Linked DNA regions of Homo sapiens: regions 1, 3, 4, 5, 6 and 7 are each linked to region 2. Evidence: promoter capture Hi-C in 16 types of primary human blood cells and fetal thymus (Javierre and others, 2016). All regions are on one chromosome and are shown on one strand. Each heading gives the region's core, a stretch centred on a gene start or on the middle of the fragment in contact. The rest is flanking DNA. Distances are from core to core; before and after follow the strand shown. Region 1 overlaps DDC (dopa decarboxylase). Region 2 holds the start of IKZF1 (IKAROS family zinc finger 1). Region 3 has its middle 66 kb from the start of SPMIP7. Region 4 overlaps SPMIP7 (sperm microtubule inner protein 7). Region 5 overlaps ZPBP (zona pellucida binding protein). Region 6 overlaps SPMIP7 (sperm microtubule inner protein 7). Region 7 overlaps FIGNL1 (fidgetin like 1).

What was found. The method cuts DNA at HindIII sites, captures the fragments that hold promoters and counts their contacts. A CHiCAGO score of 5 or more calls a contact.
Region 1: a fragment that was not itself captured here is called in contact with the fragment with the promoter of IKZF1 in region 2 in 1 of 17 cell types (total B cells); the score reaches 5.2 in total B cells.
Region 3: a contact is called between a fragment that was not itself captured here and the fragment with the promoter of IKZF1 in region 2, in 11 of 17 cell types (non-activated CD4 T cells, activated CD4 T cells, total CD4 T cells and 8 more). The highest score is 19.3, in non-activated CD4 T cells.
Region 4: a fragment that was not itself captured here is called in contact with the fragment with the promoter of IKZF1 in region 2 in 4 of 17 cell types (naive B cells, activated CD4 T cells, fetal thymus and 1 more); the score reaches 6.9 in naive B cells.
Region 5: a contact is called between a fragment that was not itself captured here and the fragment with the promoter of IKZF1 in region 2, in 3 of 17 cell types (naive B cells, naive CD8 T cells and total CD4 T cells). The highest score is 6.2, in naive B cells.
Region 6: a contact is called between a fragment that was not itself captured here and the fragment with the promoter of IKZF1 in region 2, in 9 of 17 cell types (naive CD4 T cells, activated CD4 T cells, total CD4 T cells and 6 more). The highest score is 11.5, in naive CD4 T cells.
Region 7: a contact is called between a fragment that was not itself captured here and the fragment with the promoter of IKZF1 in region 2, in 11 of 17 cell types (total B cells, naive B cells, fetal thymus and 8 more). The highest score is 12.4, in total B cells.

What each region holds. Positions count from the first base shown.
Region 1 is chr7:50,467,056-50,471,280 of GRCh38, reverse strand. It overlaps DDC (dopa decarboxylase), which reads left to right. Exons shown (of 15, transcript NM_001082971.2): 12 at 1,110-1,208; 13 at 3,966-4,067. Among named protein-coding and RNA genes, the nearest start is that of FIGNL1, 19 kb to the right of the region's middle. The HindIII fragment of the contact is 2,131 bases long and covers 531-2,661 here.
Region 2 is chr7:50,303,236-50,306,954 of GRCh38, reverse strand. IKZF1 (IKAROS family zinc finger 1) reads right to left here and starts at 2,239. Exons shown (of 8, transcript NM_006060.6): 1 at 2,033-2,239. RefSeq lists a silencer at 2,127-2,926. The HindIII fragment of the contact is 6,071 bases long and covers 1-3,719 here.
Region 3 is chr7:50,160,012-50,163,736 of GRCh38, reverse strand. No RefSeq gene overlaps it. Among named protein-coding and RNA genes, the nearest start is that of SPMIP7, 66 kb to the right of the region's middle. The HindIII fragment of the contact is 7,687 bases long and covers 1-3,725 here.
Region 4 is chr7:50,115,071-50,119,189 of GRCh38, reverse strand. The region is part of intron 2 of SPMIP7 (sperm microtubule inner protein 7); the gene reads right to left. Among named protein-coding and RNA genes, the nearest start is that of SPMIP7, 21 kb to the right of the region's middle. The HindIII fragment of the contact is 1,247 bases long and covers 928-2,174 here.
Region 5 is chr7:50,080,493-50,084,535 of GRCh38, reverse strand. It overlaps ZPBP (zona pellucida binding protein), which reads left to right. Exons shown (of 8, transcript NM_007009.3): 3 at 2,637-2,762. Among named protein-coding and RNA genes, the nearest start is that of ZPBP, 11 kb to the left of the region's middle. The HindIII fragment of the contact is 3,374 bases long and covers 1,009-4,043 here.
Region 6 is chr7:50,097,360-50,101,276 of GRCh38, reverse strand. The region is part of intron 1 of SPMIP7 (sperm microtubule inner protein 7); the gene reads right to left. Among named protein-coding and RNA genes, the nearest start is that of SPMIP7, 3.4 kb to the right of the region's middle. The HindIII fragment of the contact is 5,623 bases long and covers 1-3,917 here.
Region 7 is chr7:50,442,377-50,446,222 of GRCh38, reverse strand. It overlaps FIGNL1 (fidgetin like 1), which reads left to right. Exons shown (of 4, transcript NM_001287492.4): 4 at 1-2,090. The coding sequence ends at 960. Among named protein-coding and RNA genes, the nearest start is that of FIGNL1, 6.0 kb to the left of the region's middle. The HindIII fragment of the contact is 1,448 bases long and covers 646-2,093 here.

The DNA of each region.
Region 1 (4,225 bases), core at 347-2,846, 160 kb before region 2:
AGATGGGATTACAGGCATGTGCCACCATACCAGGCTAATTTTTGTATTTTTAGTAGAGAGAGGGTTTCATCATGTTGGTCAGGCTGGTCTCAAACTCCCGACCTCAGGTGATCCACCTGCCTTGGCCTCCCAAAGTGCTGGGGTTACAGGCGTGAGCCACCGCATCCGGCCTTCACCCACACTTTAAAAAACACCTGCAAGCCCTCCTACTGGGGAGCAGTGCGGGACTCAGGACTCCGGCTAAGCAGTCCCACCCGGCAGATGGCCCAGCTGCGCTAGAGTGTCGCGCCTGGCTGCACTGTGTCACCCAGGCCCAGTAGGGAGCTGGCTCAGCTCTCCTCAGTGTCTCCTTTATAGCTGAAATAGAATATGACTGTTAAGATGACCACACAGTGCTGCTATGCTCACTTCCCAGCAGTCTCCTCGTCCCAGTCCTTCCTTACTCACTTCACCACATCTCCATCCCTCAGTGTGTGGGGGCCGGTCAACTGACTGGGTCTGGGAAAACCAGAGGAAGGACAGGGAAAGCTTCTGGAGCACCAGCATGGAGACACACATTGTGTCTTCTGATGAGGGGTCTTGGGGTCACTCCATGGTGATCAGTAGGACCAAGAGGGAACCAGTATTGCTCTAGAAAACAGTGCCAGAACATCTGGGGCAGAAGTGGCAGACAAGAGCAGGTTCTGGCTCCCTCCTTCCTCGTAGGCAAGGACATCAATGAAAATTACCCCCTTATCCCCACTGGATGGTGAGCTCACTGGGGGCAGGGCCGTGTCTTCCCTGTTTGCTCACCACGGAACCCTAGGGGACAGCCCAAGGTCTGGCCCTGCTGTGCATGCCGCAAACACCTGTTGAGTGAAAACAATGAACATCACTGGCTCCCAGGTCAACAGTCCCCATCTGTGTTCCTTTCTCTTGGAGATTTGCAAAGAAAGCCTCTGCCCACATCACCGAGGGCCCTGCCATCCAAGACAGGCCATGGCAATGGGAGCAGGTTGGCCACCAGGGAATCGGCTGCCTCCAAGAGAAATAGGCGAGCCGGTGAGCCGAAAAGGAAGCCAGCTTTTAATATCTTCCTCACTGATGGTCTGTTTCATGTTTCATTTCAGCATTGGCAGATACCACTGGGCAGAAGATTTCGCTCTTTGAAAATGTGGTTTGTATTTAGGATGTATGGAGTCAAAGGACTGCAGGCTTATATCCGCAAGGTGACTTTGTTTTTATTATTTATCACGGTAAAATTGCGGAGGTCTTTCGGGACTTTAGAAATAAATTCAAATTTTTTTTCTTTTTTTTTTTTTGAGACAGAGTTTCACTCTTGTCCCCCAGGCTGGAGTGCAATGGCACAATCTCAGCTCACTGCAACCTCTGCCTCCTGGGTTCAAGCGAATCTCCTGCCTTAGCCTCCTGAGTAGCTAGGATTACAGGCATGCGCCATCATGCCCAGCTAATTTTTGTATTTTAAGTAGAGATTGGGTTTCACCATGTTGGTCAGGCTGATCTTGAACTCCTGGCTTCAGGTGATCCACCCACCTCAGCCTCTCAAAGTGCTGGGATTACAGGTGTGAGCCACTGCACCTGGCCTTCAAATGTCTTAATAAGCAAATACATGGCAAGAGAACCAGACTGTAGTTTGGGTTGTTGAGATGAGGTTATTTATAAGATCTGTTAAGTCACTTTCGTTAAGATTGCAGGTTATCAGGTCCAGGAAGATGGTCACAGTAGAAACATCACATAGGTTGTGCTTTAGCCACATCTAGCCAAGAATGAAGTTCATTGAGCAATGGCAATTATGAGAACATAAGGACTGTGTTTTTCTCCCCCAAAATTGCCAGAATAAGATAGATATTCCCTAGTCCAGTGGTTCTCAGACATGCTTCCAGACCAGCAGTGCCGGCCTGCAGTGGGGCCCAGCAACCTCTGTTTTAACAAGCAAACCAGACACCTTCTCTATGCACTAAAATTTGAGAACCACTTATCAGCTCCAAGCCCCACTCCCCTGCTTTTTTTTTTTTTTTTTTTTTTAAAATAACAATTGGCTGGGTGTGGTGGCTCACGCATGTAATCCCGGCACTTTGGGAGGCCGAGGTGGGCAGATCATGAAGTCAGGAGTTCTAGACCAGCCTGGCCAACATAGTGAAACCTTGTCTCTACTAAAAAAAAAATACAAAAAATTAGCCAGGCATGGTGGCAGGCACCTGTAATCCCAGCTACTCGGGAGGCTGAGGCAGAAGAATCACTTGAACCTGGGAGGCAGAGGTTGCAATGAGCAGAGATTGTGCCACTGCACTAAAGCCTGAGTGACAAAGCAAGACTCCGTCTCACCAAAAAAAAAAAAAAAAAAAAAAATGAGGAAACTGAGTCCTGAATATGAGCCTGGATCTGCCTAGAGCCACCCGTTTAGCCAGCTGCAGAAGGCCTGCTGCTGTTCTGCTGGCTCTCTCTGATCCTGGTGTCCTTCCTAAGCTGTGGCCTCATCTTGATGGACAGAGGTCCCCAGGCTTCATGGGAACAAGCACACTTATGATATTCAGCCTTAGTGATGGTAACAGCCCTCCATTTTAAGTCCTGTTGCCACTTCACAACCAGGTGTGCAGGGGCAGGTGTCCCCAGCCACCTCCTCTGTGGCACAGCATATATAAACACATCCATCTGCAAGCTTCATAGAATGCCTAGGATGTGCCATGAACTGCCTACTCCCAAAGCTTCGGTGAGGACAGTTCCAGGAGCTGCCGAGCACTATGAGGACCTGTTTGGGGGCGAGAACTGGGAAAGGAGTATGTATATGAATTCCTGGGTAGGAAATCCCCCTCTACCCATTTGAGACGAATTCAGCTTTTTTGGGGAAAGAAAGCCAAAAAATAAGGGATTTATCTCCCCACAATGATGACGTCTTTAAGCTCAAGGACAACTAGTTATGATCATGCTGGCTCCTGTTTAAAACACACTCCACTTCTTTCTTAAAGGGGACCCAATCCTGCCTTAGGAGCAGAGTCCAGCGATGCTCAAAGCCTGTCTCCTTGGGCGGGAACCGGCTTTCGGGATCGCCCATGAGGCCGAGGTCTTTGGCGCTCTCTGGTGGCATGACGAGGAACCACTCGTATGACACGTGTTTTTGTCCCAGCCACCCCCTGCCCGCGAGGCGCCGCGTTTCCGCAGGTCCTCCCCAGCACCTGCAACATGGGGGCCCTGCTGTATCCGCGGGCTTAGAATGAGCAAGGCACGGGCCTACGCCACGGAGGGCTCCTTCTCCTAGGATCACATGCTGTCTGAATAGCTTCTGAGTTCTATAACTATTTGGAAGTGAAATAAGGTCAGTGTGATATTCAATGAGAGGAAGGCCGTTTCTGAATGTGACAGAGCGGACAGGATGCCCAGCTCTAGGTGGCAAACGCGGAGGAGGAGCAACAGCTGTGGCAGCCACAGAGCTGCAGCTCCATCAGGCTGCCTTAGAATCCTAGCTCAGCCAAGGCCTCCGGGTGCACCTTGGGCATGTCGCTCACCCTCTCCCAGCCTGTTTTCTTATCTCCAAAATGGGGATAATCATGATATCTTCTGTGTTGTGGGCTGTCCTGAGGATGCCGCAGTGGTGAGCGCTGGCACCTCAAGCACAGAGGAGCAACTCGATGGGCATTAGCCATTGTCTCTTCCAGAATGATCAAATACCTCCTCACGGTGTTTATTCTAACATTATAAAAGACAGTTTGGGTGGGATAAGAATAGTCCCATGAACAGAAGAAAATGACAATTGGTGTTCTGAGGACACTAGACCTGTGCTAATGTAGGGAATGAGTTTCTTAGCCTGCCTGGAAACAGCTGGTCAGTGAACGGTAAAAGCACTTGAGGAAAATTGCCAAGAGCGTCTAAATGAATTATACATGGGCAGTCTAATAAGGTTTTCTAGGTAGTTAAGTTCTGAATTAAATGGCCATGAGAAAAACAGATTTTCCCTTTCCTCTTTGAAGCATGTCCAGCTGTCCCATGAGTTTGAGTCACTGGTGCGCCAGGATCCCCGCTTTGAAATCTGTGTGGAAGTCATTCTGGGGCTTGTCTGCTTTCGGCTAAAGGTTTGTCTACATCTATTCCATTCTTCATTTTCTGTGAATGTGACAGAGGGGAAAGTGTTGTTCATTACCTCCATGCTCAAACACTGGCACTGGCTCTCCAGAGATGGCAGAGCAAAGCCTGCATTCTTTGGCCCACCGGCCTGCCCTGCCCCATGCTA
Region 2 (3,719 bases), core at 990-3,489:
TGTATCTGTTAATAAATGCATAATCTTGAAGTGTGTGTATAAGTACATTAATATATAGAGAGTTCTTTCCTATTTCAAAATTTTTGACATTTATATTGAAAATATGCTATATTAACCACGCATGAAACACACACATCCAAATCAAGAACAAAAAATGTATCCAAACCAAAGAACCACTGTTCTCAAACTCCAAGTCTCTAGTCAAACAAGGAAGACAGTGGCCTGCAGTACAACAGGGCTTTAGACCTCTTGGCTAATACATTCACTGCGATCTTAGTTTTTCGACAAAGGAAATGGCTACAAACGGCCACAGCTGATCTTCTCTTTAGGAGCCTGTGTAAAACTCTTCGAAAGGGTCAAACCTAACACATCCAGACTTTTATCTGCAGCCCTTGTGGTCTCCTGGAGACCCTGAGGGTGGGTGATTATTGCTATGATGTTTCTGCATTAGGGGGGTGTGTAGTTTTCCAAGAGGTACCACTCTAATTAGAACACTGATGAATTAAACAAGTACTGGAGAGTTTCTAAACTCCTTCCTTCAACTCTCACCGTGAAACAAAAGGGGAAGAAAACATGACCATTTAGTTCAATAAAATGTTCTGGTCACCAGCTCTGATTGACTGTGAGACTTAAGAGTCACGTTTTTTTTCATGTAAAAAATGTATGAAATATGTTCATGGTGAAATTGGAAATCAGATACATTCCATCAAGCAAGAATAGTGTAGTATTTTTAATGTGACATCATTATTTGTATGTGTACACATTATTTCTTTAACTTGTTCTGCATTTTACAAGATGCCAGCGTAAGAAGGTGAATCTTCTTGTCATGAATATTTGCCTCGTGTACATTTTAAGCCATAGCCCAAATGATCTGATTTGTCACGGAAATAATTCTGACACATTCTAATATAAATAATACTGAAATTGTTACTTTTTAAAATTCCATATAAAAGATGAGTACAATAAAACTCATTGAACAAACATCTTCAAACAAAGAAATAAACTCAAGAGGACCCAGGACATTTCTATGTGGGTCCCCCCCACCCCTCGACTCATAACCAAATTGAACCTGGCCTTAAAAGCATTTGAATGTCTATGAAAGTTTAAATATCATACGCAGTATTTTCAAATTCCATAAATTTTCCTCTTTTAACAGAAGTTGATGGGACTAGTAAGGAGACATTTCCTCAACACCATTTTGTCTGGAATTTTAAAACAAGGTATCTCAAAGCTGAAATATACTGCCTGCGGCGCAGTGGGAAATTGTGAGTGGGTAACCTAAGCAAAGCGCACCGCATTGAAATTCAGTCTGGGTGGGCTGCAGTCCCTAGAGAGAGGGAAGCTGCATTTGAAAGCTGTGCCTGGTCAGACCCTATGGAATCGCTACGGTTTTCGGTCATTAGATGCCTCCAAATTAGAAGGAAAAACAAGCCCTCACGAGGTTCCTTAGGCATCAGCAGCGATGCTTGACAAATATTTAAAATACATTTCAAATATAACCGCAAGTAACCTGATGCCTTAATATTACTAAGGGTTTTCCTGAGAAGGTTTGGTGACTTGAGCGTCAAACCTGCGGTCAGCAAAAGGACTAACTTTTCAAAGCCGGGATAATTCCTCTCTTGCAGAAATTAAGTTCAGACTCGATCTCATCATATTTATAGTATAAAAAGAAAGCTCCCGGCTCAAATATAAGGAAAACTCTTTACACACGACTTTATAAAGGCTGACTTCCGTGGGTATATGTAGGTCTACATAAATTTAAATATGGTTGGGAGCTAGAACTCCTCTCCTGGTGACAGCGGGGCTGCTCAGAAGTGTCCCATGTCGGCCTGGTCCTGCACCTGCTGGCACAGTGCAGAGCAACAGACGCTTGACAGAAGTGAACTCTCTCACTGTCCTCAGAAAAGAGAGGCGGACCTGAGCGACACCAGGGTCTACCAACCTTACCGCTTTTCTTTACTGTGTTTTTTTTTTTTTAAATTCACCAGTTACCCCAAGTTTTCCTATTGAAATTCAATTTGAAAACACTCACGTGGATTTGTGCGTCGCGCTTTGGGGCCAAGACTGATCCTCGGGTGCGAAGAGCAACCTCGGAGCCGGGGCTCCCTCTGCCCTGCCAGGCTTGCCCGCCTCGCCGCGGCCGAGCGTCCCGCCCAGGCTGGGATGCGCCGCGCGGGGACCCAGGGGGCTTGCCGCAGTCACCGCCCCGGGCGCGGGCCGCGCAGTCACTTGTTAGAGTGTCCTGCTAACTTGGCCGCGGAGCTCTTCCCAGCTTTCTTTCACAATGACTTCCTGAAGTTGCTCACTCGCATTGTTCCCCATTTCTCCGCCACACTCCCCGCCCCCAGCCGGCTCAGACCAGGCTTTCGCGCTCCCGGCCGACCGGCTGCCCCGCGCGCACAGCGCCGCCCGCGGGCCCCGTACCTGGCCCCCTCCGCGCCGGCCGCCCCCGCCGCGCCCTTGCGTTGCCACCAGCTGCCGCCCAGAGCGGCGGGTGGCCAGAGCGCGCGCCCTGCCACCCCGCAAACTTTGGGGTGACGCACGCTGGCGGTCCCTGCTCGACCTGCCCCGCAGCCGGCTCGGCCCCGCGCGCACCTCTCGGCCGCCTCCCGGATCGCTGCTCCGGTACAGGGAGCGGGGCGCGCAGAAGGGCGCAGAGCGGGACACGGAGAGGGTGCGTCGTCCCGTCCCCGCCCCGTCGCCGAGTCCCCCGGCTCGCGCGGCGCGCGTCTCAGCCGCAACTCCGGGCCAGAGGGGCCGCGCACGAAAACTTTGCAATCGCGCCGGGCTCCGGCTCAGCCCCCAAAGGCCGCCGGGGCGGCGGCGGGTGCGGGCCGTACCTGCTGGCGCCGCCGCCGGCTGCAGCCCGCTCGCCCGCGCCGGGCCCGCTCGGCGCGCCGCCGCCACCCCCGCGCGCACCGCGCCCGGGCCCTCCCCTCGCCGCCGCGCTTCCTCATTCCAGCGCAGCATCGCGCCGCGGCCCCGCACGGGATGCGGCGGCCGGCGCTGTGTCCGCGGGCCGGGCAGCCCGGCTCGGCCGCGGCGCTGCGGGACCCGCGCGTAACCCGTGGGGGCGCGGCGCGGGCGACACGTGCGGGCCGCCAGGAGGGGGAGGGGGACGCGCGCCGCCGGGCCCGCCACCCTGCACCCGGGGCCGCTGGTCGGTCGGGGCACCCTCACGCTCGCCCCGCTGGCGAGACTGGAGGGACTCGGGACATCGTAAAGCACTTTCCCCAGTGTCTGGGAGCGCCCGCTGTACGCTCAGCTTCACGTCCCTGGAACTGGGGCCCCTTGGCTCCCGGGTTCAGGCTCCGGCCCCAGGATGCGAGTGCCCACCCGAGGGGGTGGGAAAAGTTGATCCTCCGCAAGGGAGGGGAAGGTGCAATTCATTTTCCCAGACAACCAATGGAATACCTCTCGTCTCTCTTCCCTCCCACCTGCTCACGGCAGAAGTTAGGATGGCGCCTTCCATGTTGGCCTGGGTGCACACACAAGTGCGTGCGGAAGGGTGGCTGCAGGCGGAGGTGACAGCGAAGCAATCCCGCAGCCCGCTCGACGGCTCTTTGCGTCTCAGACCTCTCCCTGGCGTGTAAGACACCGTGTGTCTCCGTAAAACGGGAATGCCACATCTGACAGCGCACCCCTTCGCCCTACGGGGAGCCCCTCACTCTAATTAGCCGGGCTCCACCCGAGCAGGAGCCAGCAATGTGTTCAGCTTG
Region 3 (3,725 bases), core at 753-3,252, 140 kb after region 2:
TTAAAAGGAATGTTTTGGATAGTTTCTTATGTAAGGACCTTTGAAGAGAAAGGGCATTGACTTTTTTATAACTTCTTAAGTTTTCCAGTTTTTAAGAACACATGCCTACTGTAGTAACAGTATAAAAGGGTAATCACCTGTAATCTCAGAACTAGTAACTATTTACCTTTTCTCTACAGTCTTCTATGTATACATATATTTAAAATTTAAATAATTAAATACACGCTGTTGTAATACCTGCTTTTGCATTTAACAATATTGCATATATATCTTTTCATGATAATCAATACGAAGCTCTATTATCTTTTTAATGCATATATTTCAGTACATTAATGTACAACAATTTATCACATTTTCTCTCTCTTTTTTTTTTCTTGAAATGGAGTTTCACTCTCGTTGCCCAGGCTGGAGTACAGTGGCCCAATCTTGGCTCACTGCAACCTCCGCCTCCTGGATTCATGTGATTCTCCTGCCTCAGCCTCCTGAGTAGCTGGGATTACAGGTGCCCACCACCATTCCTGGCTAACTTTTGTATTTTTGGCAGAGATGGAGTTTCACCATGTTGGCCAGGCTGGCCTCAAACTCCTGACCTCAGGTGATCTGCCCACCTTGGCCTCCCAAAGTGCTGGGATTACAGGTGTGAGCCACCGCGCCCGGCCTATCACATTTTCTTTCGATGGGCATGTTGTATCGAACTTTGCATCTCAATAGGGAAGACACTAGGTTCAAGAGGCCGAAGAAGAGATCCAGAGACAGCAAATGAAGCATGGGATTTTATTAGGAGCATACTATACAGGGGAGAGAGTCCAATGCAGGCAGGCTGGATAATAGGACTGCCTTAATTACAGAAATGGTGGTGGTAGCCTGGACAACATAACCACATAACCCAGTGGCAGCAGGCTGGCCAGGAAAACTGCAACTGCTTGCAAACAGCATGCAGTTTATATAGCATTTTCACTTAACATCCTCCTCCTAGTGAACTCCACCTTCCAACCTTCATGAACCCAAAACTCAGGGCCTCAATCTCTTGTTCGGCCATGTTCCACAGGATGGGACAGGGGCTCAGATGTTTATCATAGATAAGAAACCAATCTCTGTGTTAGCCACTCCCAGATGCCCTAGCTCAGAACACACATCAGGTGCATCTGCCATAAGGGTCATTCTAAGAGTATGCTTAAGTTATTGCTATCAGTTGTGTTTACCCTACAGGACAGTAAGTTGTTTTCATTTTCTCTCAGTTAAATAAAATGCTGCACCTTTAATTCTTTATGCATATATATTTGCTTACTGTGTGATTATTTGCTTTGACAAAATCCTAAAAACGAAATGACCAAGTTGAAATGTAAGCCACTTGCGAAAGCTCTTAAAACATTTTGCCAAATATCCCCTAGGAAGGTATTACCCATGTAAACTACCGGTGGTATACAGACATCTATTTCTGCTCATAAGCACCAGTTTGTGGGTGAAAAGTGAAATACTACTGTCATTTCTCTAATACTACTGAGGTATAAAAATTGTATTGGCCATTCATATTTCTTATTTTTTATTAACATCCTTTGACTTGTTTTTATTAGTATAATCATTTTTAAATCATAGGCTGTTTTTACAATGAGAATATGAATCCTTTGACATATTTTCCTGGCAGTTTTATCTTAAAATTTTGGTTGTATTTTTTATACTGAAAGTAGCTTTTTATCTCCTTCAGTGTCCTTTTCGGAAATTTTTTTCACACCCTCCACCTTATAAACCAATTCTCTTGAATTTCCGAGTAATCTGTAACTTATCTATTTAAGTCTGTATTCCAGGAACAATTCATTTAGTGGATCTACATTTCTTTTTTGTTTCAAATAGTTGTCCCAATACCATCTATTGAAAAAAACCTATCCTGCACTCAGGAGTTCAAAATACTTTCCTCTGTTCAATTCTAGTTTCCATTCTGCTCTGTGTTGAGTGCCATATTTTTTCATAGTATTGTACTTTTGTAATATTTTAATATGCTGCATTCTAACATCCTTATTTGCTAGAATAAGATTATTCACATGGATTTTCTTCTTTCATTTTCTTTCTTTCTTTCTATTTATTTATTTATTTTTTTTTTGAGGCAGGGTCTCACTCTGTCACCCAGGCAAGAGTGCAATGGTGCAATCATGGCTCATTGCAGCCTCAACCTCCAGAGCTCAAGTGATCCTCCTTCATTTTTTGATTTTTTTTTTTTTTGTAGAGAAGAGGTCTCACTGTGTTGCCCAGTCTGATCTTGAACTCTGGGCTGAAGCAATCCTCCCGCTTTGGCCTCCCCAAATGCTGGGATTACAGGTGTGAGGCACTGCCTGGTTTAGCATGTATTTTTTCTCTCAGGTGAACTGTATAATTTATAACATCTTTCACCTAAATGCTATAAAAATGCCACAGTTCTCTGTATTTGTGTCATCTCTGGGGATAAAGAAAAGCTGAGAGGGTGACTTTATAGAGGAGACGGTGCCCGGAGGGTAGGGAGTGAGGGGCAAGTTGTTAGTCCGAGGAAGCACAGCTCTGCTGGCTCCTGGTGAAAGAAATCATGCAAGACCAGAATTCAGAATCTGAAGAGCAGATGTGTATCCCTGAGACTATTTTCCATGGCTTTTGTGACTTTTAGTTGTAATGTTGACCACAGAAGCCCAAATACTACAACTTACACCCACCCCACAGGTCAGGGTCAGGAACACTGGTAATTCTATGTTCTTCCTTGTTGTGACTGACCTTGGGATTCTAGGTCTGTGGTGAACAGGATTTGCATTTTTATCTTCACAAGTGATAAGTCTGAACAAGCAAATGAAGAGTCACCATCTCTCTTTTTCTGAATGAGGCCCAGGGATGCCGCAGACAAAGCCAACATCCTTCTAGAAGCAGCATTGGGGTGTTCAAGTGCTCTTACAGGTGTCTAGGTATCTGCACTGTAGAGAATGGAAAAATTATCTTAGCCTGGAAAATGCTAAGATCCAGTATTACTGAAGCCCTATCCAGGCCCAGAATGATGAAGAGGTGCCTCAGATTTTGAGCACCACCACCCCCTGGCAAAGTGGCCTGCCAGGGATGTTTACTGCAAAATGTAATCTCAGGTACCTACGTTAACCTGCTTCCTGAAGGAGGCTAATACTGCCCCATTTGTGTTTTGCTGAGAACATTCCAGAGTTGAAGATTTTTATTTGGGTCTATTTTTTTTCCAATTTACTCTTTCTAAAAATAATGAAACTACAAGATTGGGTTCAGGGGGAACCATTCCTTTTGCACGCAGGCACGTCCGCCCTCAGGATGGATGGCTGTTGCCCTTCCTCTTTCATCCTGGTAAAACACTCACCATCGAAGCATGTGTTGTTGTCCATTGAGGCAATACATGATTCCATCACAAAGATAGCTGACTTCCCCCTTTCTGTGGGAAAATCAAGAACAAACTACCCCCAAAAGAATTTACACATTTACTTGGAGTTCTGAGGTATAACTATCTTGATCTTAATTTCTTAGAAGTCAGATAAAAACCCTGAGACACTTCAGAAAAGTCTAGAAACACAGGGAGGGTTTTTTTTTTCAGTTTCTATTTGTTTTGTTTTTATAATTCATTGAAGGTTATCCAATTTGCTGAAAAAATGGAAGGGTAGGAGAGGTATAATATCTAAATTTAGAAAACCTGGATTCTAGTTATAACTCTACTAATTATTAGTTGCGTGACCTTAAATACTTCACTTCTCCTG
Region 4 (4,119 bases), core at 302-2,801, 190 kb after region 2:
TTTACTGCAGCGTGGGTGGCAAGTAGAACTTGGTATGGTCTCTTCCAATAGGGAGAGGACCATGGGTTCAATGAGGTCTCTGATGTCATTTTCAGAAGATCCAATCTCCAGGTTCTGGGTTTTGAAAGGTCTGGTTGTTCTCAGTCTGTGGGTCATGGAAGATCTCCTTCACCTGGTGAAAATACACTATGACATAATGCATTAAAGCCTGCAGTATTTAGTCATATCAGAGTTTAGGATAATGGAAGATACACGAGGTTCTATTATTAAGGGCATATGCCTTCCAGGAACTATTCCATAAGGAGTCAATCGATGTTTTCCACTGGGGGTGGATTTGATTACCATTAAAGCCGAGGTAATATTACCTCAGTAATGATTACCATTAAAGCCAGCGCAATCAAATTGATTCAGTTAACTTTGCCAATTTCAGCTGTAAAATGCCATTTGTCTTTTGACCTTTCCAGAAGACTAAGGGTAATAGGGACAATGGTGATGCCATTGGGTGCATAAGCTTATTCGACTGTTTCTAAATTGTCCAGTGAAATAGGTTCCTCTGTTGCTGGAGATTTCTCCAGGGATGCTCCATAAAGGAAATACTTTTTAAATAACTTCTTAGCTACCATCATAAGATCAGCTTTCTCAGATGGGAAAGCTTCTATCCAGCCAGATAACATGTAAATATACAGATATCCCACTGAAAATGACAATTGAATAAAGTCCGGTAGTGAAAATACACCACCTGAAGTTTTTATTGTTTTCACAGGATTATGAGTTTGACAAACCAAACATTGGTTATGAACCATTTTATCAATTTGATAACAGTTACCCCACCAGTATTTGTTCATAATTTGGATCATGCTGTCTGTTACATGATGAGTTGTAGAGTGAAGAGCTTTGTGGAGTGCAAAACTTTTAACAGTGGAAGCTTCAAGGACTCAGGAAGTACCAGAAGGAAGTATTAGGCACCCATCTGAGAGCTCTTTGAGTTCAGGTTTAACACTGAATTTACAGGCATTCGGATACCAATTTTGTTTTTCCAAATCAGGCACATTTCACAGTTTGTTAAATAGGTCAACATAGGGGAGTTGACTTGGATCAATCTTACAGAGTTTATTCAAATTGTGTATCCTAACAGTTTCAGCACTAGTTGATTTAGCATAGAAATCTGCCAGGGAATTCCTTTGATACTCAGGTTTAGTTTTACAGCTATGATCTTCAATCTTAATAATGGCAGTTCGTGATGATAAGAGGCTAGCAGAAAGGAGTGCATTTGCTTGGAGACTGTTTTTAATGGGGGGTCCCCCTCTTTGTTTCTATAACACGCCAAAATCACGGACTACTCCAAAAGCATGTAACTATCTGTATAAATATTTACTGACATGTCTTTAGCTATATGTACAAGCTCAGGAGAAACTGACTTATATTAGGTGAGAGTTCTCTTCTGTATTAACTCATTTCAGGTGATAAGATCATACCCTGCCTGGTATTTTCCTTCTGAGTTTTATAATAAGACCAAAAAACAAAAAGTATCAACTCAGGATTATCAAAGGGATTATCTCACATATGAACATGAGGAGCCACTATTTCTAACACTACACTCACAATTGTGGTCTTCACCTGCATGAGGCAGGGGTAGTAGAGTAGCAGGGTTAAGTAAGTTGCAACATTTCAGATAGAAATTAGGAGACAAGAGAAGAATTCCAGAAGGTGTTAATCTATTTGCTGACAAATACAGAGTTTGTCTGGAATTTAATATATTTTTTTTTGCAGTGTGCAAGACTTGCAAATAAAGGTCGTGTCTTAAAAGCGGCTCAGATGAAACTACCAATTTGGCTGCTGCTGCTACCGCTTTTAAACAATTAAAATATGGCTTAGCTACTGAGTCCAATCACAGGCTATAATATGTGATTGGCCTCTATTTTCCTTCATGTTTTTGGGTAAGTACTCCTAATGCCTGAATGTTATTTTCATGAATGAACAGCGTGAAAGGTTTAGCATAATTTGGAAGTCATAAAACTGAAGGCTGTTGTAAGGCTATTTTCATTTGCAGAAAAGCCTCCTCATGGCTGTCTTCTCAAGGTAAAGGCTCTGATACTGAGTTTCTAGTAAGCTAACCCAATGGTGAGGCCATTAGGGAAAATGTGGGACCCAGAATCTGTATTATCCTGCAAGCTTGAGAACGCCTCTTATTGTTTCTTTTAATTGTAGGTCAGGAAAAGCTTTGAGTAGTTTTTATTCTCTCAGGCAAGAGGAGAATTGCTTCAACACTCAGGTTACATCCTAGCGAGTGAACATTTTTTTCTTGAAAACAGAAGTTTTTCCATTAAAACATTGTGACCCTTATGAGGCCAGCAAGTTGCTATAAAAGGATATTGAATTTTTCCCCTCTACTTAAGAATAGTCTTAGTTATTTCTGATTCTTTGTTTTTATGTATCCATTTTTTTAAAGAACTTTTCAAAATCCCACAAAAATATAGTTAGAATATTGATTTAGATGGCACTGAAACTATAAATCAACTTAGGAAGCTCTAAACTTTTTAAACATTTTAAGTTTCCATTCCAGATAATAGCATATTGCCCTGTCTATTTAGGTTTTAGATTTTCTCTCAATACATTTACTAGTTTTGCCATAGGATTCTTGAATACAGTTTCATAAATTTATTACTCAACAGTGAATAGTTTTTGATACAATGGTTAAATGTTTTAAAACTTTCTGTTTCTTGCTGATATTTAGAATACAATAAATGCATTTCCAATAATGTTCATTTCTAAAAACCTTATTCAGTTTCTTTTTATCATAGTAGTTTAACTGTATAGGCTGGAGTCAGTGGCAGACTGCCTAAGCTCAGGAGTTCCAGACCAGCTTGGGCAACATGGGGAGACCCTGTCTCCACAAAAATACAAAAATTAGCTGGGCATGGTGGTGCATGCCTGTAGTCCCAGATACCTGGGGGGCTGAGGCAGGATGATGGCTTGAGCTTGGGAGGTTGAGGCTGCAGTGAGCTGTGATCACGCCACTACACTCCAGCCTGGGTGACAAAGCAGGACTCTGTCTTAAAAATAAAATAAGGTAAAATAAAATGAAAAGTAATTTAATTGCATATTTATTTGGATGTTTACATACATAATCATATTGACAAGAATATTAGGGTTGTTTAGTCACCTCCAATTTGTATACCATTTTTATGTTTGCTTAACTGGGCTGGCTAAGAACTTCAGTGCTTAGGTGAAAGGAGGAGGAGAAAAGAGAACGTGAAAGAGGACATACTTGCTTGAGATTGCTTACACAGGGGATGCTTTCAACATTTCACTATTTAATATTAAGTTTGATTTACCTTTTCACAGACATCCATTATTAATTTAAGGATAATGTCAATCCTTTTTGTCAATTTTTTTTCATATCTTGAGATGAGTAGATGACTTGTATTTTAATCAGTTAACACAATGAATCACATTTATCAATTTTCTAAAGTTAAGCAAAACTTACATACCTGAATAAACCTAACTTTATAATGATGTATTAACCATTTGTATATCACTATATTCTAAATGTGCACATATGTTTTTATTTTTTACCAGGCATCTTTTATTATTGAGTTCTAGTTTAATTTTGTTGCAATCCGAGAACATCTTTCTATAATTTCAATTTTTTGATTTCATTTGATGTGTTTGATATTCCAGAATATAATTTATCTCAGTGAATGTTCTGTGTGCCATTGGTATTTATATCAATTAGGTCAAGTTAGTTCATAATAGTTTTCATATGTTCCATATCCCCCTTTTTTTCTGTCTACCTTTCCTATAAACTACTGAGGACAGAGTTTTGAGATATCTACTAACGGTAAATCTGCCTTTCAGTCCTATAAGTTTGTGCTTCATGTATTTTGAGTTCTGTTATTAGGTGATATACATTTTAAATACATTTTATGTACATTTTATGGATTGATCCCTTTCCTATTGTAAAATATCTGAGTCCTTAGTAAAATTTCTTGTTCTGAAATTCACTTTGTCTGATGTTATTACAGCTAATTCTGCATTAATTTGACTAGTTTTTGAATGATATATATTTTCACATCTTACCTTAAACTTCTATTTATATTTCACATGGTTTTCTTGTGG
Region 5 (4,043 bases), core at 1,446-3,945, 220 kb after region 2:
TTTGTGACCCTCTTTTTAACTCGTTCGCCTTTTACATATTCTTTTCAGTTCAGTTAGTTTTCCATTTTCATTAATTCATGTATTAATTAATTCACTGAGCCTTTATTTACATTTTGTTGAACTTTTAGTTTATTCTGTTTTTTTGGTGTATGTAATAAATACCATTTTGTATTTTTTTTTTTTTTGGTACATGTTCAGAAGTTTTCTGGGACTGTATTATCCAGGAGAAGAGGTTTTAGCATCATAGGACCTGAGCATTCTCATTCTCACTAACTTTGCTCTTCAAAAAGGCTGCACCAGTTCACACTTCCTTCAGTGGTGCTTGAGGGGGTCCCATTTTCCCACATCCTTATCAGCACAAAATTTTACCCAACTTTTTCCATTTTTGGTAAGCTGAAGATTAAGTTGCCTCTACCCATTCTTTTCTTTGTTGTTTTCAAAGGAGTTCTTTTTCATATTGTTTATATTCCAGTTATAAATGCATTATTAACTTTGTTGCAAATATCCTCTCCCTACAGTCAAATTTGTTAACTTTGCCTATGTTATACAGGATCAAACAGAAAGTGTTACCATTTAAGAAGTTGAGTTCAGTATTTTTATATTTGTGCTTTTTGCATTGAGATAATTTTCTATAACTGGTTCAGACATAAAGGTATTATTTTCTTTAAATAATTACTTGCCTTCAGTTATTCAGTGTACCTGGAATTTATTTTTATATACGGTAAGAGGTATAAATCTAAGTTTACATTTGCATGTATTTTGAGATAACTTTTAACTATAATTTATTGATAATCTATATTTTCTCCAGTGATTTTAGGTACCTTGTCTACCACATATATATCAGTTATTTATGCCAATTTGATTTTTTCCCTAGACCCATTATTTGTTCCTACACCAGGCCTCTCTTTTTTTATTTAGTGTAAATGTTAATATATCTCAGTAACTCTTATTGCTAGTCCCTCCTCTTTGCTTTTCTGTTATAGAATTCTTTCAGATATTTATGAAGCTTTAATCTTCCAAATGGATTTTAGAATCAGTATTGAAGAGCTTCTTAAATAATTTCTTCTGGGATTTTGCTTATGTGTTGATAAATAAATTTGGGAATAAATTGACATCTTTAAAGTTATGTGTATGCAGTCATGATTATGGCATTTTGGTCTAATTTTATGTCTTTTGTTAGAGCCTGAAGATGTTTCCCACAGAGGTCTTACTTGATTATAGAGTGACTTTTGTTTATTGTACTCTAAATATTATCTTCCTTCCTATAAAATGGTTTAATGCATTATTGTTGATGTAGAGGAATATTATTTGTTTTTGTATGTTGATCTTGCATTGGGAAACTCTTCTGGATTCATTTATATTTGCTGTGAAATAGGTACAGGGGTTAGTGGGGGCGAGAGGAAGGGTACAGTCATGGTATGAGGTACTGTCAAGCCAAAGCACAAAGGATATACTTATGCTGAGTCTCCAAAGATGAGGAGGAATTTATATCAATAAAATCACAAAAGAATGATGCTGTGTGCTGCTGTGGCGTGGTTAGGGCAGAGGGTGTGAAAAGAGGTATAGTGAGATATATGCAAAAGATCATGGAGAGTAGGGCCAGTAAATCATGCTGAGGAGTGAAAATTTATGGGGTAAGCATTTATTAAAGAAGTTAGGCAATCTATTAATGCAAGCATTTCATTAAAGTACTCAAAAAGAAAAAAATCACCTCAATCAATATAGAACAAACATTTCTTAAAATTCAGTGCTGATTTATGTTTATGATAAAAACAAATAACCAAGAACAGAGGGGATCTTTCTTAACCTGTGGAAGGGTATGTACCTAAAAGTACATTCAATAAACATCATGCTTTATGGTAAAACTTTAGAGGAAGTCTCTTAAAAGTCAAAGAGAATTTTGATTCTCTTTATTTTACTCGATCACAGAAATCTTTGTATACAGTGTATCAGTGAAGAGTTGGCATGCAGAGTCTAAAGGGTTGTTGCAACCTTTCCTAAAAGTTTACTTATGAGTAAACTTAAAATAATGGAATCTTTACCGGGTTCCTTTTGTATCTCCTAAAGGATACTATTTTTGCTTACTTATCAGGATTTAAATTTCAAAGCAAATGGAACAAAATGCTTTAATATTTAAAATCAATAAAAGCATAAATTTGCTAACTTTTTAATCACTTTATCATTTTTATTCAGTACATCATGCTACATCATTGTGAATAATGCATTATTCTGCTAATCTAAACAATTTTTAAGCTCTAATCATGTTTGGTGTCTTTACAAAACAGATAAAGTGTAGATATAGTATTATCTTAATACTTTGTTATTGAAATAATATTCTGAGAATAAAACAGGTTAGTGTATATGAGCTCTGAATGAAAAGTACTAACACATTATGCTAAGGTTGGGGATACATGTACACACACATACATGCATACACATATATACATACAAATACATAATATATTTTTAATGTTAATTGCATAGAATGCAATGAAATTTAGTTTTTATCAAGTAATAGGAGCAATAATTCAAAGTACTCTTATTATTGCATGTAACCCAAACTACAAAAGTGTACATTATAGAGAAAGAAAAGAAGATAAAATACTATTGGAACATTTTAAATATTGTATTTTCAGTGAAAGCGTATGTCATGCTCCATCAAAAGAGTCCACACGTGTTATGTGTAACGCAACAACTGCGAAATGCTGAACTGATAGACCCATCATTCCAATGGTATGGGCCTAAAGGAAAAGTTGTTTCAGGTAGGATTTTGTTTCAATTATTGTAATTAAATAAATGTATCTGAATTGTGTGCAACACAAAAAGAATGTTTGTATCTCATACATATTTATGTTATTTCCTCAATTCTTTTTCTTGTGATTTCCTTTTGGAGTTAGAGCTAACAATGTAGATAGTGTTCCCATTTTTACATATTTTATTTTGATACAGGGACATACTCTAAGAATGAACTGTTTGGGGGGTTCTCAAAGCATCTATAATCCCCCAAAGTTACTTTTTCTCACTTAAAAAATACTGTTTGTATGACTGATTTGATCAGTATTTCCTCTAGTCAACTTCTTGTTTTTTAATCCTGAAATACAGATTTTACTTTTTACTTTTATTCTAATTTTTTGATTGGATAAAAGCTGATTTTTAACACTGTAGTTTTAAAAAACTACAGTTAACTTAGCTGGCTTTGTTTCTTGCCTTGCAAAAAATATAGATTAATGAATTTTCATTTTGAAGATCTGTTCAGTCATTTTTGCATACCCTCAGAGAAAGTTTTCCTTTATTGCTCTATTTACCATGTTTTCTTTCCTTTCTTTTTAAAAATCTTATTGCTATTTTGAGATCGTGCCTGTGGATAGAAACTTACAGGCTTATTTTATTTTCTTGGATGAAGGAGAGCAATATATTTATACAAAGACTTGCTAAAGAAACATAGGAAATACTAATTTTTAATATGTTTTAATTCATATTTATATAGCTAAGAGATCTCAGCTGTATGTTTCTGTGGTATTTATGTTGATACAAAAATAGGTAATTTTAAAGAATTAATCTCCTCTTTGGGTCAGTCTGTGTTTTTCTTAGGACAAATTATTCATCATTCATTTAGTGAATGACTACTTGGTGGAAGCCGCTGTGCTAGGTTTTATGGGGGATAGAAAGATCAGACATAACCTCTGCCTCACTACACTAGCAAAGTAGGAACGATTGTGCAATTTGTTCATGGGATCAGCAGGGCTCAACAACAGAAATTCTAATAAGTTTTGCAGCTTATATAATCAGAGAAGTGATCCAGGCGTAAAAGCACCCAGTAGTGGAAATACAATCAAATTTTATTTTTATCACTCTCTAATAGTAGCACATAATGTAATAGAAACATGTGTTTTAAATATGTTTTACATTTTATATTGAAACTCTGCAAGTTGAAATATAGAAACATTTAAGCATTGAATTTTTTATTGTCATTTTTTGCTCGTTTGATTTGGAAATTGAAATTTGAAATTTTTTCTTCTCCGAGGTGCAACGCCAGGTCTTGC
Region 6 (3,917 bases), core at 314-2,813, 210 kb after region 2:
AGATCCCAGATAAGACTCTGAAGAGGACTAATCCCAACGTGCAAGTGCTTATCAAGTCTCCATTTGCATGATGCTTACTAACATATAATTGGCCCAAGCCAGTCAAATGTCCAGGCCCAATGTCAACATGGGAAGTAAACAGAGTTTATCAGTAAGAGTGGCAGGCACACACAGGAACAGGGTGAATTGCTGAGGATCACTTTTGGACCAGCTACCATTCATCACTTCTTCATAAATTTAAAAAGGTTAAAATCATACAGTGTCTTTTCCAGTAAAAATGAAAAGAAACTAAAAATCAACAAAAGAAGGGACACTGGAAAATAAACAGATATATAGAAATTAAACATGATGCCACAAAACAAAGGATCAGATAAGAAATCATAAAGGAAATGGGAAATTATCTTGAGAAAAACGATTTTATTTTATTTTCATATTTATTTATTTATTTATTTATTTATTTATTTTTGGACGGCATCTCACTCTGTCGCCAAGGCTGGAGTGCAGTGGCACGATCTCGGCTCACTGCAAGCTCTGCCTACCAGGTTCACGCCATTCTCCTGCCTCAGCCTCCCGAGTAGCTGGGACTACTGGTGCTCACCACCACGCCTGGCTAATTTTTTGTATTTTTAGTAGAGACGGGGTTTCACTATATTAGCCTGAATGGTCTCGATCTCCTGACCTCATGATCCACCTGCCTTGGCTTCCCAAAGTGCTGGGATTACAGGCGTGAGCCACCGTGCCTGACTGAAAAATGAAAATTTAAACAACAAAATTTATGGGGAATGACCTTAGCAAGATGGCAGAGTAGGAAACTCTGAACTTCCTCTCCCCAATTAATAAACTGATTCAGCAACAATTCATGAACAAGTTACCTTTGTGAGAAATACAGAAACTGAGTGAAAGGCTCCTGCACCTTGACAGAATGCAAAACAGACGCACTGAAGCTGATATGGAGATTTGAGTTAGTCACCCTCTTGCAGATTCCCTGCCCCTGGTGCAGTACCAGACAATCAGGAAGAGATTTCCTAGCTCCCAGATTCATTCAGGTTGTTCTCCCCTCAGTTGGTTCCCATGTTTAGCACCCCAACTTTTCCAAGGGAGCTCCCCAGAGGACTGGCTTCTGTCTTGCCAGTCTGGGAGCCCTGAGGGGTCTGGTACAATCTAATGATCCAAGAGTGAACAGAGATTGCATTCTGGACTGGTGGATAGCACAGACTCTCCCATATGCTCAGCACAGAGTAAGCAGATTTTAAATAATCTTCTCTCTCAGCCCCCTAGAAAAAGTTGATTCATTCGTGTCCAGCACCCCAACTTCTCGGTAGTTGCCTAAAGAACTATGATTTATCTCACCAGTTCTGGAACTCTGATGAATCCAACATAGTTTAACCCCCTGGGGGAAGATGGAGAAGGTAGCCTGGGCTTGTAGATGCCACAGATCTAGATCTAGAGATAGTCGCCATAGATCCAAGAGTTGATCCAGGACCCCAGCTTCTCTGGGGCTGCTCCAAAAACAGCATCTGTCTTATCAGTCATGAAACTCTGATGAATCTGGCACAGTCTAGTTGCCTATGGGATAATGGAAATGGGAGTTTGGGCTAGTAGACACCATAGCTCACCCTCTCCTCAGCACAGAGCAAGTGAACAAAAATCCCATCTCTCAGATTCACTTGGGAAGGAAAACAGTTGGCAGAGGTTCCCAAATCTCTGGCCAGGCTGAAGGGTGAAGGTCTTCTTCTTTACAAGACCAGGTCATGAAGAATGAAAGAAGTGCCTGCTTTGCCTAATGTGGAAACACCTACACAGAGAGTCAAGGAAAATGAAGAATCAGGCAAAGATCCTCCAAACAAAGGAATAAGATACATTTTCAGAAACCAATCCTAATAAAATAGAGTTAAATAACATACCCCACAGAAAACCGTCACGAAAATGCTCACCAAGGTCAAGAGAATCATAAATGCAGGAAGAGATAGACAACAATACAATAATAGTAGGATATTTTAGTACCGCACTTTTAATGATGAATAGGACATCCAGACAGGAGATCGATAAGGACATAGAGGACTTGAATAACACATAGACCAAATAGACCTAATACACACAGAAGTTTTGGACATATACTACAACAGGAGTGAACCTGAAGGACATTACGGTAAGTGAAATAAGCCAATCACAAAAGACAAATAATATGTGATTTCGCTTAAGTGAGGAACCTAAAGTAGTCAAAATCATAGATAACAGAAGATATAACGGTTGTTGCCAGGAGTTCATAACCCCTGGCAGGGAGGGAAATAGGGGGTTGTTTAATGGGTAAAGAGTTTCAGTTTTGCAAGATGAAGTGAATCCCAGAGATGGATGGTGGTGATATTTGCACAGTATGAATATACTACTTAATGTTAATTAACTATAAAGATGGTTGTGGTGAATGTCTGTATCCCCCCAGATTCGTGTGTTGAAGCCTAACTCCCAATGTGATGTTATTTGGAGGTGAAGACTTCGGGAGGTAATTAGCTTTAGATGAGGCAAATAAGGTAAGACCTCCATGATGGCATTAGTGTTAAGTAGAGGAAGGGAGACTAGAGCTCTCTCTCTCTCTCTCTGAGGATGCAAGGAAAAAGATGCCTTCTATAAACTAGAAAGAAGGTCTTTACCAGCAATCAAATATACCAATTCCATGATTCTTGGCTTCCCAGCCTCTAGAACTATGAGAAACAATTATCTGTTGTTTCAGCCACCCAGCCTTTAGTATTTTGTCATGCAAAGTGACTTAATACAATGGTTTAAAAAAAGATAGAAAGACATACAAAGTGGTATCAATATTGATATCAGGAGGCCAAAGTGGAGGACAATCAAGGAAGTGACAATAGATGAGGTCTATCTCTTCTGTGATAACAAAGACTGGATCATCTACTGCAATGAGAGGCAGAGTACTATAAAGGATCTGAATGTAATTAGAATAAGTTTAGAATTGTTAATTGGTAGATGATAAAGAGAGACAACTGGATCAAGAAAGGAAGTACTAAACTCAGTAAAAGGTCTACACAGGTTTGGAATGGGGCAAGTAGAAATCAGCAATATAATATTTTATGATTTTTCTTTGATATTTGTGAAAGTCCACTGAAGAGCATACCAGTGTGTATGTAATTAATTCTGAAATGACCGTCTTTATGAGAATGTATTAGAAATAACGTGTATTTAGGTTTGTTACATCCTGAAAGTACTTATCATTTACAATTAATTGTTTCCAGGATGTACAAAGTCATTGAAAGCCTAGGACAAATTATATTGAACTCTGTCCCCAAATTGCAGGTATTACTTTTTGAAACTCTTAATAGTTAATAATAAGAGCTACTATTAATGAAATGTTTTATCAGGTTTCAGGGATTCTGCTAAGCACTTTACAAGTGTTAATTCATTTGATTCTTACAAATGTATAAAAGAAGTAAGATTATTCCTAATTTATGTATGAAGAAACTGAAAATTTTGGACTTCTTACAATCTGACATTTATTCTTTATTTTAGGTATTTTTACATAAAATGGCCCTTACTTATTATCTTACGAAGTTTCACTCTTAGGTGAGTTTTTTTTTTTTTTTAACATAAAATGACCCTTACTTATTATCTTATGAAGTTTTACTCTTAGGTGAGTTTTACAAGTAAGGATACACAGGCATAAAGAGAATAGTAACTAGCCCTGGGTCGTACAGCAACTGAGTTTTTGCCAGAGCTCAAGGCCAGACAGTCTGAGTCTAAAGCCTGTTCTCTAAACTCCTCTGTTTCACTGATTCAGGCAGTGAAATACATGGGACAGATGAGCTCTATACTTGGTTCTGACTTGGTGGTACAAAGTCTGTTAACACCATTTTAGCCCTATGTTAGCTTTGCTAAGCCATTTCTTCAACCTATAATTTCTTAGAATA
Region 7 (3,846 bases), core at 120-2,619, 140 kb before region 2:
ATGCAATGTAAGCCTTATGGGGCAGGACCTACAGAACCAGCACATCCAGTTGATGAGCGTCTGAAGAACTTGGAGCCAAAGATGATTGAACTTATTATGAATGAGATTATGGATCATGGACCTCCAGTAAATTGGGAAGATATTGCAGGAGTAGAATTTGCTAAAGCCACCATAAAGGAAATAGTTGTGTGGCCCATGTTGAGGCCAGACATCTTTACTGGTTTAAGGGGACCCCCTAAAGGAATTTTGCTCTTTGGTCCTCCTGGGACTGGTAAAACTCTAATTGGCAAGTGCATTGCTAGTCAGTCTGGGGCAACATTCTTTAGCATCTCTGCTTCATCCTTAACTTCTAAATGGGTAGGTGAGGGGGAGAAAATGGTCCGTGCATTGTTTGCTGTTGCAAGGTGTCAGCAACCAGCTGTGATATTTATTGACGAAATTGATTCCTTGTTATCTCAACGGGGAGATGGTGAGCATGAATCTTCTAGAAGGATAAAAACAGAATTTTTAGTTCAATTAGATGGAGCAACAACATCTTCTGAAGATCGTATCCTAGTGGTGGGAGCAACAAATCGGCCACAAGAAATTGATGAGGCTGCCCGGAGAAGATTGGTGAAAAGGCTTTATATTCCCCTCCCAGAAGCTTCAGCCAGGAAACAGATAGTAATTAATCTAATGTCCAAAGAGCAGTGTTGCCTCAGTGAAGAAGAAATTGAACAGATTGTACAGCAGTCTGATGCGTTTTCAGGAGCAGACATGACACAGCTTTGCAGGGAGGCTTCTCTTGGTCCTATTCGCAGTTTACAAACTGCTGACATTGCTACCATAACACCGGATCAAGTTCGACCCATAGCTTACATTGATTTTGAAAATGCTTTTAGAACTGTGCGACCTAGTGTTTCTCCAAAAGATTTAGAGCTTTATGAAAACTGGAACAAAACTTTTGGTTGTGGAAAGTAAGTGGGATACTTGGAATCAAGGCATCTCTGTAGTACAGTCTTCTTTATTTTTTAGCATAGAAAGTTGGGGATGTGTTAATTGTATTTTTAAGAATATATTCTAAGTTCTGTACTTCAAATAATAGCACAGATTTTACATCTGATTGACATAGTGTATGTTAATGTAAGTTTTGCTTTCCAGTGATTACCTGATACGTAAGCCTATTTGAACAAAGTGAGAATGAACTTTTGTTTCTAAGAAGTCTTTATCTTGAAGCTATATAACATGAAAAGTGAGCTCAAATTTTTTTTAGTTGAAGATTACATATAAAGTTGTGTCTGATTAATATTCATCTTTTATTGAAGAAAGTGCCTTCTGATGGCCACATAATTCTTAATGTCAGCTAGTATAATGGTTTACATTTGGACAAAGTATTGCTTAGTGTTATTTAAGTAGATTTAAGATCTCAAAGCTAAAGTGCCAATTTTTACTTTCTTCAGCCAATTTGTTACCTCTTTTATGGTTTTTAATTTTTATCAGGACTAACATTTTCAGAAATAGCAAGGTGTGATCTAGTATTAGATTCACAGAACTGAAAGGTTAATTAAGAATGTTGGTTATTTTCACGGGAGCGTGTGATATTTAACATTAATATTTTATTTGACACTACAGCCTGTAATACTGCTCTCTTTCAAAAACAAGTTTTCAGATTTTTATAACAGACCCATTTTGTTTTATGAAACATGTTCATTACAGAAACATGAGAAAATAGAGATAAGTAAAAAGAATAAAAGTCACTATTATCCTACCACTTTGCGGGACACACTATTAATATTTAAGCATAGATTCTTCCAGATGTTTTGTTTTATACAGCAGTAGGATTGTGTAATGTATTCTCTCTTGTAGCCTATTCTTCAAAGCGTATCTTCACTTTCCATGTTAACATAAATGTCCTTTTATGATTGTCTAGGATTCCATGGATGGATGGAATATAATTGAGTCATCTGGTAGAGCGCATATAGGACAGGACGCTAGGTTGTTTATCTTTTGTTTATTGTAAAGGAACTATGTGGGATGCATTTGGTGATCTTTTTAAAAAATGTATAAATTTCTTGAGTAATTCCTGGATTAAAGAATATGCACTTTTTAAAGCTTTTGGCTTGCATTCTAAATTGTCCTCTTGAAAAAGTAGTTCCTGTGTAAAACTCCATCTGCACTGAATCAGAGCTATGGCAGCATTGGGCAGTAGGCAGTTTTGGTATTTGTTGGCATTCTTTTTGCATTTATTCAAAAAACTGAAGGTAGTGAACGTAGAGCAATGAACAACACAAATATCCTTGGTCTCGTGGAGGTTATATTTAAGTTCTAATGTTTTCTCTTGTGAACAGTGCAATTTGAAATGACAAATTGAAACACTTTTAGTTGTTGAATTTAGACAGTTTGTGTATATAGTTTAAATTTTTATTCTTGGTTTGCCTTCTGTTTTTATGTTAAAAGATTGTTGCAATTTTTAGTTTTTCCCTTTGTAATATGTGATTGTCTTTCATTAGAATTCATTTTTTGTTTTGTTTTGGTTATTTTGAAACAGTCTCGCTGTGTTGCCTAGGCTGGAGTGCAGTGGTGTGATCTCAGCTCACTGCAACCTCTGCCTCCTGGGTTCCAGTGATTCTTGTGCCTCAGTCTCCCTTGTAGCTGAGACCACAGGTTTGCACCACCACACCCAGCTAATTTTTGTATTTTTAATCGAGATGGGGTTTCACCATGTTGCCCAGGCTGCTCTCGAACTCCTGGCCTCAAACGATCCACCCACCTCAGCCTCCTGAAGTGTTGGGATTACAGGCATGAGCCACCACGCCTGGCCTTTTTTATTAGAATTTGGACGTTAAACTTCTTGTCTTCAGTTCTTAGTTATATCTTTTAACATCCTAAAACATTCCACAATATTCATTACTGTCTTTATCCCTTTCTATTTCTATATAAACAGCACTATAAACTTGGTTTCTTTGGTATTGATGTCAAGGAATTCTCTAGTTTTTCTTTCTTGGTGTTTAATTGCAGATCACTCCCACCTTCTTGGGTCTAGCTATTTAGATTTATCAGCATTTGCCCTCTAGCTGTTAATGTTTTATTTAGCTCTGAAATTTGGTCTTAATATTTATTATCAGTTTTTTTCAGTTACAGCTTCTGCCAGCCCTGACTTTAAGCTCCCTTGATCACCAGCCACAGGGCCACTTCTTTCTATGGAGTTTAGAAATTGTGACAAGGAGAGAAAGTCTAGTTGGTTTAGCTCATCTTGGATTAAGCAGAGCCCATGTCTCTCTTGTTAGCTCAAGAAATGGTCTTTCCTGAATTAAGGTCTACTCTGTTAAATAAGAATCTAAACCTGAAAGGAATAGTCAGGATATTTTAAAGCTGGAAAGAAAATTTGAGCTGGGGAGTCAACTGTTGTTTCTACGTTATACCACAGAGAAGCTTTCTTTGTCTCAACACTTTGTGATTTTGAGTGTTTCTGAAGCAGTTGGATAGGAAGCTTACTGAAACTTTAAGATTGCTTACTCTCGCCACATGCGATTGTCTTCATCGAATATAATAATCTTGGATTAAATTATCTCAAGTGTGGCACTGCCCTGTCTTTAGCTATTGTTTCAGAAACATGAATGCTAGCCTGATATTTAATGTCTTCAAAAATTACATTCCCTTAGTAGAAATACACATTTTACTAAACATGTCACTTGGTTATGGTATTAATGCTTAACAATTTTGATATGAATATGGTAATTCTAATTTATGATTTCAGGCCTTCTTAAATCTTTATTATACATCTAATAATAATATATGATCCTTTTGATATGTATTCATTCTGTGGTAAATTTCTAATTTTCTGAAATTTTAACTCATTTTCTCAAT